2 separate regions of the Homo sapiens genome follow, and region 1 is linked to region 2. The links are contacts of gene promoters, found by promoter capture Hi-C in blood cells and fetal thymus (Javierre and others, 2016). All regions are on one chromosome and are shown on one strand. The core of a region is centred on a gene start or on the middle of the fragment in contact, and the rest is flanking DNA. Distances in the headings are between cores, read along the strand shown. Region 1 overlaps SEMA3D (semaphorin 3D). Region 2 holds the start of SEMA3D (semaphorin 3D).

Region 1 (5,217 bases), core at 1,485-3,984, 140 kb before region 2:
TTTACAATTATCACTGATATTTAAGGTAACCATGAGAACATTCTAACTAGCAGAATAATCCCATCTAGATTTGTAGGACAGAAAAGGGATTTATACTGTACTGCATTTCTTTTAACCTGACCAAAAAATAGAAATTTTTTGAACAAAATAATCTTACCTACCCATCCAACAGCCTTCTCTAGCCCCTCAGGAATAAAAAGATAAAAAACCAAGACAAAACAAAACAAAAAAATCCAAGCCAAAGATGAAAGCCACCTGCTGTCAGAAGGGAAGCAAATACAGTTCCTGGGATAATAGCACTCAGGAATGGATTATAAGCATTTAATGACTGGATAGTAACTCTTACAGACATCCAGAAGCATGACCTGAGATGGCAAAGTTCAATTCACAAGGAGTTGTATTTCTCCTGTAGGGAAATGTCAGTTGGGCTGACTTTGTTGACCAGTTTCTCAGTCCCTGGATTTGTTTGCATATCCACACAATCTCCTCTAAGAACTTTAAGCCCAGAAGAGGGCTGAAAGGGAGGTAACCACTTTTGTACTAAATTGTCACCTCCTTGCTTATTTTTGTGAAGTTCTAAAGAATATAACCATCTCACGAACACAATAGATTTATCATTAAGATGTCAAAATCAGCAGTTTTTAGTCACCAGGCACTTCTGTGGGTCTCTACACTATTTATCATTCACTTTTTGTAGTTAAGTGTTCCAAAAGCCTTGACACCCTCTACACAAAGATGCAGATGAAAGTAACAAAGAAAGTATATGTAAACAAGCCTGATCACATGTGTTCAATTTGGGTGGTAAGTACAGAGGGTGCCTGTTTTCCTGTACTTGTTATATGTTTGCAGTATTTCTTAATTTAAAATGATTAATTAAAAAAAGAAAAAAAAATTAAAGACAAAACAAACCACAATTTGCAATCCTTCAGCAGCTTTAAAATATAGTACATCTGAGTCATTTGATTGTATGATGGTTGCATGTTACGAATTACTAAGATCTTCTAATCATAGCATCTACTGATAGGTAGATCAGACCTAAAGCAGGGTAATATGGCATTATATTTTCCTTCTACTGTCCCAGCAAAACTTAAACCCTTATAAATCTTATATAGACATGTAAAGTAGCTAGCAGCTGTCACACATGAACTTTTATTGAGTGTGCCTTTTGAACTTTGGGTCACTATGCTGGGTTCCTCTGTTAAACGTGATTTTATCTGTATATACCATCCTCTTCAAGGATCCCTCAGTACTTTATAAACATTGTCATTTTAACCTATATATTAGATAACAGTGGCTTTTGGAAAATGTAATAATTGACTTTCGGCTCCTATGCTCTTAAATCCTGAAGATTTTGTAAAATCAGTTTACTCTCCAAGACATTTGAAAACAAGTATTTTGTTAAGCTACTAATTTGTGTGCAGAGATTTGTAACCCTATTCATGAGTTTAAGTTGAAGGACACCAGTTTCAAATCAATAGAAACTGGATAATGACAAAGTTTAAGAACTTTAAAAAATAGTTGATGCTGGAGTTAGAGGTTATAAATTATTCTCTGCTTAAAATTTAGTTATTTTGCCTAATACTGCTCTTCTGTATCTTTGTGCAAGCAAGAGAATGAAATTCTCAGACACTTTGAAACCATGATATATGCATTCTTTGTGTGCCCCACTCCCTGTTCTACCCATTAATAACACTTATGCTTATAGATTTTAGTTTGAATTAATACTACTCACCTTCTTTTGAAGTGTGATATAAATACTACAGTATTATAAATTAAGAAAAACCTATTCCATTACCCAAACTAACACTGAGGCAAACACACAGGCTTTCTGTTGGCCATTTTTACAAATTCAACAAATAAGATTAGGGAAATTTAATACTTTTGTCTTTTTGATTTAATGCCTGTTATATTTCAATCCATCATTCATATTCTTTGCTTGATTTGTCATTTATAATAGATCCCACAGCAACTGTCCAATCTACATCTATCTGTGTTGTCTCAATCTTCAGTGGGTTATTTCTAGAAACAGATTTTAGAATCTTTCTTTGAAAACTTAGTACAAATGATCTGCATGGGGCTGTATAAATAAATAATAATGATAAGGACAATCCAAACTCAGGGTGGTCTATTCAGAAGTTTGAAACTATGACCATGACATGGTAGAAACAAAAAGTGAAACCTGGCATAAGCCCCCAAGAGACTCATTAGAAGTGTATGCCTTATATTGAACTATATTACTATATTGTGAAGATCTTAAATGAGTATGTTTTGATACATTAAGTGAACTAATGGAAGATAGTGAAGTTATGCTCATTAAATCAAATGAAACAAACTTTGTTGAACTACCCTTTTTAGCCTGTGGGTTTTCTTTTGCAATACTTGCAATGCCATAACTATGTTTCATGTACCTGGTTCATTGGGATTTTTAAAAAAGGATCTGACCACTAAAAAATGAAGGCAAAAATAATAATATGAATTTTAAAAATACGGTTGAGAGTTTTCACATAACCATATTTGGCAGTCAACTCCGGTAAGTTAAGTTGTAGAAACAAATGTAGAAACAACTGTGTAACATAGAACATGTAGAAATATAACATGTAGAAACAAATATCTCTTCACTTACTTTCTTTGGCAACTTAAATTATAAGCATTTTTTAACATAAAGAGAAATTTATGGATACCGTTTCTCTTTACCAGAGGAAGGTCTATTGGCACTTGCTCTTTACTGTTTTCAAAAGTTTTTTTTTCCCACTTCTGATACTTAGGATTCCCCCCAAAATTCTTGACATATAATAACATAGAGTCCTTTACCTCACCTACTAATAATCTTGAAATACTTTAGATGAAATAAAAATATACAAACTCAAACATCTAAGGCAAAGGATAGAGGAGAAAAAAAAAGAACAACAAAAACTTTTGTGGCAGCTATTAAACACACTAACTTTTAAGGGATAAATTCTATAGAGGCTTTCAAGGCAATTTTTTTTTTCTGAAAAATACACCTAGTATTTAGAGACGACTATTTGTGATTTGCCGTTAATGACTAAGCAAATAGAAGTGGAGAACATGTTTTTCTAACTACTTCAGAAACTCATAAAAATTATTGGAAATACAGGACTGGTGTAATACACTATCCTGAACAACTCAGTTTCTAAGATTTAGCACATTCAGTTAGGTAAATCTAGGAATGTTAAGCAGTCCTTTTCAGGTAGAATCAGAGTTCATTCAATTAAAAAAAAAAAGCTGTAGCAAACAGTATAAACCCCTTCCTAGGAATTTCTCAGACAGGAAAACAGATGGAAGTGAAGCAAAAGCACATCTGTAACTCGTGGGCACTAAATCTCTCATTTAGGTTGTAAGTGACATGCTGAAAGTAAGCACAAAAACCACAGCTCAACAGAGATCAATAAATACGGAAAGTGTCATCGGCCTAAAAACACAAATCTTCAAAGGCAGTAATTGTCCAAATAGGACCATATATCAAAATAGACAATGCAAGTGGAATTGAAGCAAAGGGCTATTAATGAGACCCCCAGGCAAGTTATGTGAAAGGGCCATCCAAACTGAATTCCTGGCATGGGGAAAGGAAATACTGCAAAACAAAAAAGAGAACTGGCATAACCTACAGCTGGAATCTGGAGTAGACTTGCATAAGTATAATGGGCAGCTCTTCCAAAAATGAATAGAATTCAAAAGTAATGCAAAACAGCCTTGAGGTGAAAAATTGCAAGCAAGTCTCACCGAAAGAACTAGTATTTCCACCCATTGACTTAAAAGGTGGGTCTTGAAGGGAAACACACACACACACACACACACACACACACACACACACACACACACACAGAGACAGAGTAATAAACATCAGACAGACATAAATAATGTATTTTGAAAGTACTAACTTGCAAAGTAAATAGACACAAATCTTTTCAGTGGGTTTATTTCATGTGGTTTTGCCTATTCATTCAATTAGCATTTAATAGCTCATCAAGAAGATCTGTGTTATTTACCATCTACGAGAGCAGTTCTTTGGGGTGTAAGTTGCACCATTTCGTGCTTCAAGATATTAACTGTTTCACAAAATGAAAGAACTGTAGAGCTTGACAAGGACTTTAGAAATCCTTCAAGGTTAAACAATTTATTGGAAAAATAGAGTAAGTAGTTTGACTGGAAAGTAGGAACACTACTAAAAATAATTCATTAGGAAATGTGCTCTACCATGTATAATTATAAACATATTAAGTTTAAAAGATATTCTGTGGATGAAGGCACTTATTCGCCTCAGGCTCTCATTGATCAATATTGCCCAGTAAAATTATCTTTTAAGTCAGTTTATTTATTGTGTCTCTCTTCATTGATATCTCTTGACCAAAATTTGCATTGTTCAAATCATTTATGCAACTTTCTCCAAATACAGCTCCAAATTACTTTGACTATGTTCAGAAATAAGATCAATCTTCAAAGCACAAATTCTCCTAAAGATAAAGAAAAATAATAATGTAACTTCAGCCTTTAAAACTAATAAAATGACATATCTCTTTGATCACCTTTGGTAACTAACCTGCCCCTAACACTGCAAAATACACGCACCACTACCATCAACACCAACTTCTTCCATTCCTAAGCACAGGTACGCTGATCTGGCTCCAAATGTATGTGTGATGTGTGTGTATGTGTGCACATGCATGTGTGCATATGTGTGATTTTTGGGATTAAATTCACTGTAGTGTGACCAGATATTTACATTATTTACATGTCAATCTCTTATAGTAAATTGTTACATGCTTGTAAACTTAGATATCTAAGTTACCCTTGTTTTTGGCACCTTCCTCAGTTATCTGTCACATCCAAATTCATATGATCTTATTAAAGCCTTACATTTGCTTGGTAAAATAGTTATGGAAGCAATAGGTGCCTGCTGTCCTCATTTTTTAGGTTAAGAAACTGAGAGAATGGGAAGTAGAGCAAAATGTAAGCCTAGATCTGATTTTAAGTTGAACATTCACATCATCCAGGCAAAAGTCATTGATGATATCATTACTGCAAAATCTAATACCTAGTCTTTAATCATAATCTTACCTGACCTCTTTTTGATAAGCGACATTTTTGACAACTGCTTTCTTCTTGAAGCAATCTTTTCCCCTGACTTGTGACAACACTCTTCTCCAGTTTTCCCACTCAGCAATGACACCATTTCCTCTCAATTGCCTCTGCAGACAC
Region 2 (5,364 bases), core at 895-3,394:
CAGCTGGGGCTGATCACTCCCAACCCCGATCTTCTTGCTCATCCTCCTTGCTGTCTGGCCTCGGAGAAGGAAAAGGAGAAGGGAGGGCATCATTGGAGTGATGACATGTGTGTCTTCTTGCTCATCCTCCTTGCTATCTGGCCTCAGAGAAGAAGGAAAAGGAGAAGGAAAAGGAGAAGGAAAAGGAGAACAAAAAGGAGAAGGCAAGGCATCACTGGAGTGATGACATGTGGCTCTCTCCCTTCTCTGCCCTTCACATTTTTCTTTCCACGTGCAGAACTGGGAAGGCTCTGACCACCCCTGCCCCCGCGGTTGCCATGGTTACACAATAGCAGCAGCACCAGACCCAGGAGATGTCTCAGACCTCTCCTCTACCTCCGCCTCAACCCTTCCCTCTCTGTTAGGAGATCCTCCCCCTCGTCTCTGCGCGCCCCCACCCCGCCATCCCCCGCTAGCGCACACATGCAGGAGAACCCTTTTTAGGCTAAACCGGAAAGTTTAGGTCTTCTCCCCTCTTCTTTTGCTTGTGCAAATAGCACTAAGCTAAACGGAAAGTGGTGGGGTTTTGGTGATGAAATAAGAGTCCACGCACAGAAGCTTGCCTTTTATTACCGCTTCGCTCGAGGCGAAATCGCTGAAAGTTCGGCTATTTAACTCCTGTCCCCATAACTCGGAATCCCGGACACCAGCGGCCCCAGCTGCTGGCGCGCGGCTCTCTTCCAGTCCCCTGGATCCCAAAGCTCCCTGCCACAGCGCGGCGTCTCCTCCTCCTGTCAACTTCCCTCCTTGCACTGTGACGGAGGCAAAGCAACTCAGCCCAGGAGGTTGAACTCGAGTCATCAGAGAAGGAGAAACAGTGCCGAAAACGGCCCGTGCGCTACCAGGGTAGCCCATTAACGCATTAACTCCAGGCTCGTTGGGCAGAAGCCGGGAGGAAACACCCTGGGGACCGCACTCCTGGTTAAATGCCCAGCACGAGTCAAATCCGGCCTTTCCAAAGCGAGCCAAGCCCACTACTACAAAGAGATCCCCCGAGTGTTTTGCCTTAACCACATTTCAGACAGCCAGCTTTGTGGCTGCTGTTTGACTCCAACTTTCCCTCTAAATCTAAAAGGATGCACACTTCCATCAGACGGAACGTCGCGATTCCCCGGCGAAGAAAAAGGCGTCGCCCATTCCTCTTCCAAAACGCTACAACAAAAACCACCACGCTTCCCTTCCTTCTTCCTTGCCCCTTTCCCTTCTCCCAGACCAACAAGGAAAGGAGCGAGCGAGGGCGCAGATGCCCTTTGGTCAAGTACTCCCCGGATGTTCCCGACTAAAGCGTCTCCAAATGAACCTGCAGCCTGCGGAAGCCGGGGACACATTCATAGACGCTCTCTGCTGCCCAGACCAGGAGGGGTGGTGGGGGAACCAGGAAGCCAGGGAGAGAGCAAAGTTCCTGGACGCGTCTCAGGAGGAAAACTTTGTGCAGTGCTGCCAGGCGGAGGCTCGTCAGAAGGCTCCGCAGCTGCTGAGGCGGGGTGGGACTGCGCCCCAGGGGCCGCGCTGAAGCTGGCGCCGCGATTACTGCGCACCGATTTCGCCCACTCTCTGTCCGCTCCCGGGAGCCTTCTCTGTCTCAGGACGGTTCCTTATCTCCCAAACCATGCTCGTCCTCCACTTCGGACCCACAGCCACCCCCAAATCCCGGCTATCCCCGCTTAGCACCGCGGTCTCCAGCACACCCTCCCACTGGAGTAGCAGGTGACCCAAACCAGACTTACCTGCTGTGAACTCTTCTCTCCCTCTCTCTTTTCCTGGTGCCTTTTCAGGGAGAGGGGAACGGGATGCAGGCTGAGGTCCAGCGGCGCGGCAACCCGGGGCACCGGCGCGCGTTCCTCTGAGCCGCAGCCCTGGCTGAGCAAGCGGAGCCGCCGGCAGCCCTGGCAGAGCCGGGAAGCTGCGGCCGCAGGGGCCAGGCCGGGAGGCAGGGGGCGCTGCTGCCTCCCCCGAGAGCCGCGCTAGGACAGGCGGAGAGCAAGGCACCAGCTGGAGCTTTGGGGAGGAGAGGGTGGCGAGGAAAGGCACGCTCCAAACAGGAGGGCGGCTTTTAAGTTTGTGGTGTGACCGCAGCAGCTGTCCTGGGAGAGACTCAGTCTTTCTAAAAAGAGGATGCTGAAAACGCCGGGGATTACCTTTCCCCTTCCGATCTCCTCCCCCAGCCCTCGCCCCCTCCTTCCACTGCGCACGCCAGAACTCCCAAGCGTGCAGAAGTTCATCCCTGCTGCGCGGAGGCTGCCAGCAGCGTGGATTTAGAGGTAGCCCTGGCCAAGCGCTGACGGATGTTTATCAGGACAGGGCACCCTATGTGTAAAGCAACCTCTAACGTCTGATCTTCCTTCTGGGTGACTTGGGGACTTCTTTAGTTCCTTCTCTATACCATAAAACCTGTTAAGGGACCCCATGAGGAAGAAACAGGGAGAGTGACCACAAACACCGTCCTAAAAATGCTAATCCCACAAAACAGTACCTGCGTTCCACTATGTAAAACCTCAATCCACGGTTAATGGCCTTGACAAGGCAGGCATAGGGATGAGGAACAGGGATCAACCCTCCGTTAAGGGGCTGGCACCCGATTAAGACCAAACAGGGAGAGATAAAAACGAGTAGAATGTAATCCTTTCTTCCTCTTTCCCTTACGCCAGACCTACAAAGAGGTGTGCCTCATATCCTTGTCTTCGGGAGTTTTTTAGATTTTTGCACCCCTTATTCACACAGTAGGAACTTAGAAGTATATAATGACGAGAAGATCTAAGTTTTGATGAACCTGGATCCTATGCAATTGGAATAGAGGATCCTCTTTAAGCAAAAGTAATGCAGAAATATCTCACTTCTACAGATTCTGCAAAAATATATGACAATGAGAGTTCATGAGGCCACCGTCAGGGACATTAAAAAGGCCTGTGCATTTGGTGAGCCCTGTACGTTAGGCATTTTTAGCTGCATGGTAAATCCTTTGTGATGGGATATCCAGGTTTATAGTCACACACCTTGCCCTTAGTCCCAAACATAAATCTGACATGAGGTAGAGACATGGAAAGCAAGCAGCCACGGGATCCTGCATTTGTCAGCTTGATTTAAGAGCACAAGGTGTAGGGTCCCAAAGCTTCCTTAGCAAGTAACAAGAGATATCTTGATTTGGAGATGGTGAACAGACAAATGCAGTAATGGAATAACTGAAAGGGGTGGAAGACATTCTTCATTTGACCTTTTATCTGTGGCAGAGGGCTGAGGGCCACAGAAGCTAAAGGAGTCATTTTAAGTTATAAATGGTTGATGGCAGAGTCAGGCTAAGGAAAGGCTCAGGTTTCTCAAATCTGACCAAGGCTCTTTCTTGTGTCTCATGCTGCCCCATCTCTATAACCTTGGTTTGGACTCACAACCAATCAACCCCATAAATACCCTCTTTGGATAGAGAAAAAAATTTTAAATCCTCGTAGACTATTTCAAACTATAGCAACTTTTATTTTTTTTCTGAATGCTTTATATTTAATGTTATACCACTCATTCTGTACATAGTCATGCAATTGTTTATTGTATGTTTCTATGTGTTTATATTATTTTCATTTGTATATGTCATTGCACTTCCATGCAAATTGCAATGTCATTGTGCAAATAAAATATCTCTTTTTTTCTCCCGTATATGGTGGGTTTATAGTAAGTAGTTTTTGATTTTTAGAAAATCTCTATTTTTAAACTTTTAAATAATTTTGTCAGTTTATTGGCCAGAATTTTGTGTTTAACTAGAATTGTGGTTAACTTTGGATTTCCCATTTTCCTCCTTTCTCTTTTAAGTTGTAGCTTAATATGCTTAAACCAAATGACACCTTCCTTTGCTACCATTCAATACTTTCCATAAAGCCCTTACAGAATTAATCACTCCCTCCTGTTTTCCCAAAGCACTTTGATTTCACTACTATAATAAGCTCTTTTCACTTTATATTATAATTAGTTATGCATGTGTCTGCATCCCATACAAAAGTGTTGGCTGTTTTGTGTCTTTGTTTCTTCAGCCTCTAATACAATGCCTGTGACATTGTATTGTACTGATTTAGTTTGAGATGCTCAGACTTCAAATTTAGACAGAATTTACCAGAGTATCCTGAACATATCATGAGAAAACAACATCTGGAACGTGAATTCTGTGCTTTCCTTCCTTTTAATGACTCTGAGCACAAAGCAGATGGAATCAACTGTTAATATGTTGCCCAATGTGATGAATGGCCTCAGCTGTGTCCATGGCTCCGTAATCTTCAGGCTGCTTCCCTGAATGTCTTGAATGTGTTAGGTGCTTAACAAATATTTGTGTGTTAAACGAGTTAATAAAAACAGTAGAAATAATGTTAATATTCAGTCACTGGATTTATTTCTGAATTTCTAATAACTGTATAGGGTCCCACCAAGATAGTTTTAACAACCCTTTCTAAGAGTTTGAGATCTACTTTCATCAAAAGCAATTTGGTATTCTGTCCTATAGGGCTAATACCCTATCTAAATTCTTAAAATAAAACCCAGTGGGAAAAAAAGTATATTTTACAAAAAGTTTTGCTAAAATACAAGGTGTATTGTGCAGTTTAGTTTGTCTTCAAGGGTGACTATTCAAGATTTAACGAGTGAGCCTTAATTTCACTGAAAGCGATGTGTATATCATCAGTTAAAACCACCTAATTGTTGCTTGTATGCCTGTTTCAGTCCAAGGGGAAAAATACAAACAAAAAGAAAAAGGAAAGAAAACAAATAACTTTCATGTTCTTGGAAACATTATTGAATAAATAAATTGTGTGCCTTGAGAATCTAGGCTATTCTGAGACATACTACTCCTCACCCATCTCTATTTGGGCTCACAAATATAATATGAGTAAGTAATTTTCATTTTATGGTAGTAATATGTGTTAGGCAATATGAAATACACTATTTCTCAAAGGATCACATTTAATGCCAAACAAATCCAAAGAATAAAATTCTAATTGTAGAATTTCAGTAATCATCCATCTATGTTGAGAGCCATGGGAGAAGGCAGCAGGGATGGGTTAGGGTAGAATAGACATATTGTAGGCTTCTCCAATTCCACATATAGCTACCTCTGAACAGAAGACAGGAGAAAGGTAATTACTGGGTCCAGAGCTTAAATCTAGCAGAAGATTTGGCTGTCCTCTCAGCAGAAGATACTAAAACCAACAAAATCTACAATCCTAGTTCTCTCTGAACAGTTTTATATTCACAAATCAAATGAAAATTTGGTGAATTTGAAAGAAAATTATTGATGAAGGAGACCTCAAAGTTTATACACAGAGGCAAACAAGAAAAATTGTGTTAAAAAGC

What was found. The method cuts DNA at HindIII sites, captures the fragments that hold promoters and counts their contacts. A CHiCAGO score of 5 or more calls a contact.
Region 1: a fragment that was not itself captured here is called in contact with the fragment with the promoter of SEMA3D in region 2 in 3 of 17 cell types (naive B cells, total B cells and megakaryocytes); the score reaches 8.9 in naive B cells.

What each region holds. Positions count from the first base shown.
Region 1 is chr7:85,046,279-85,051,495 of GRCh38, forward strand. The region is part of intron 9 of SEMA3D (semaphorin 3D); the gene reads right to left. Among named protein-coding and RNA genes, the nearest start is that of SEMA3D, 140 kb to the right of the region's middle. The HindIII fragment of the contact is 7,409 bases long and covers 1-5,217 here.
Region 2 is chr7:85,184,912-85,190,275 of GRCh38, forward strand. SEMA3D (semaphorin 3D) reads right to left here and starts at 2,145. Exons shown (of 19, transcript NM_001384900.1): 1 at 1,767-2,145. RefSeq lists a silencer at 1,957-2,016. The HindIII fragment of the contact is 2,551 bases long and covers 596-3,146 here.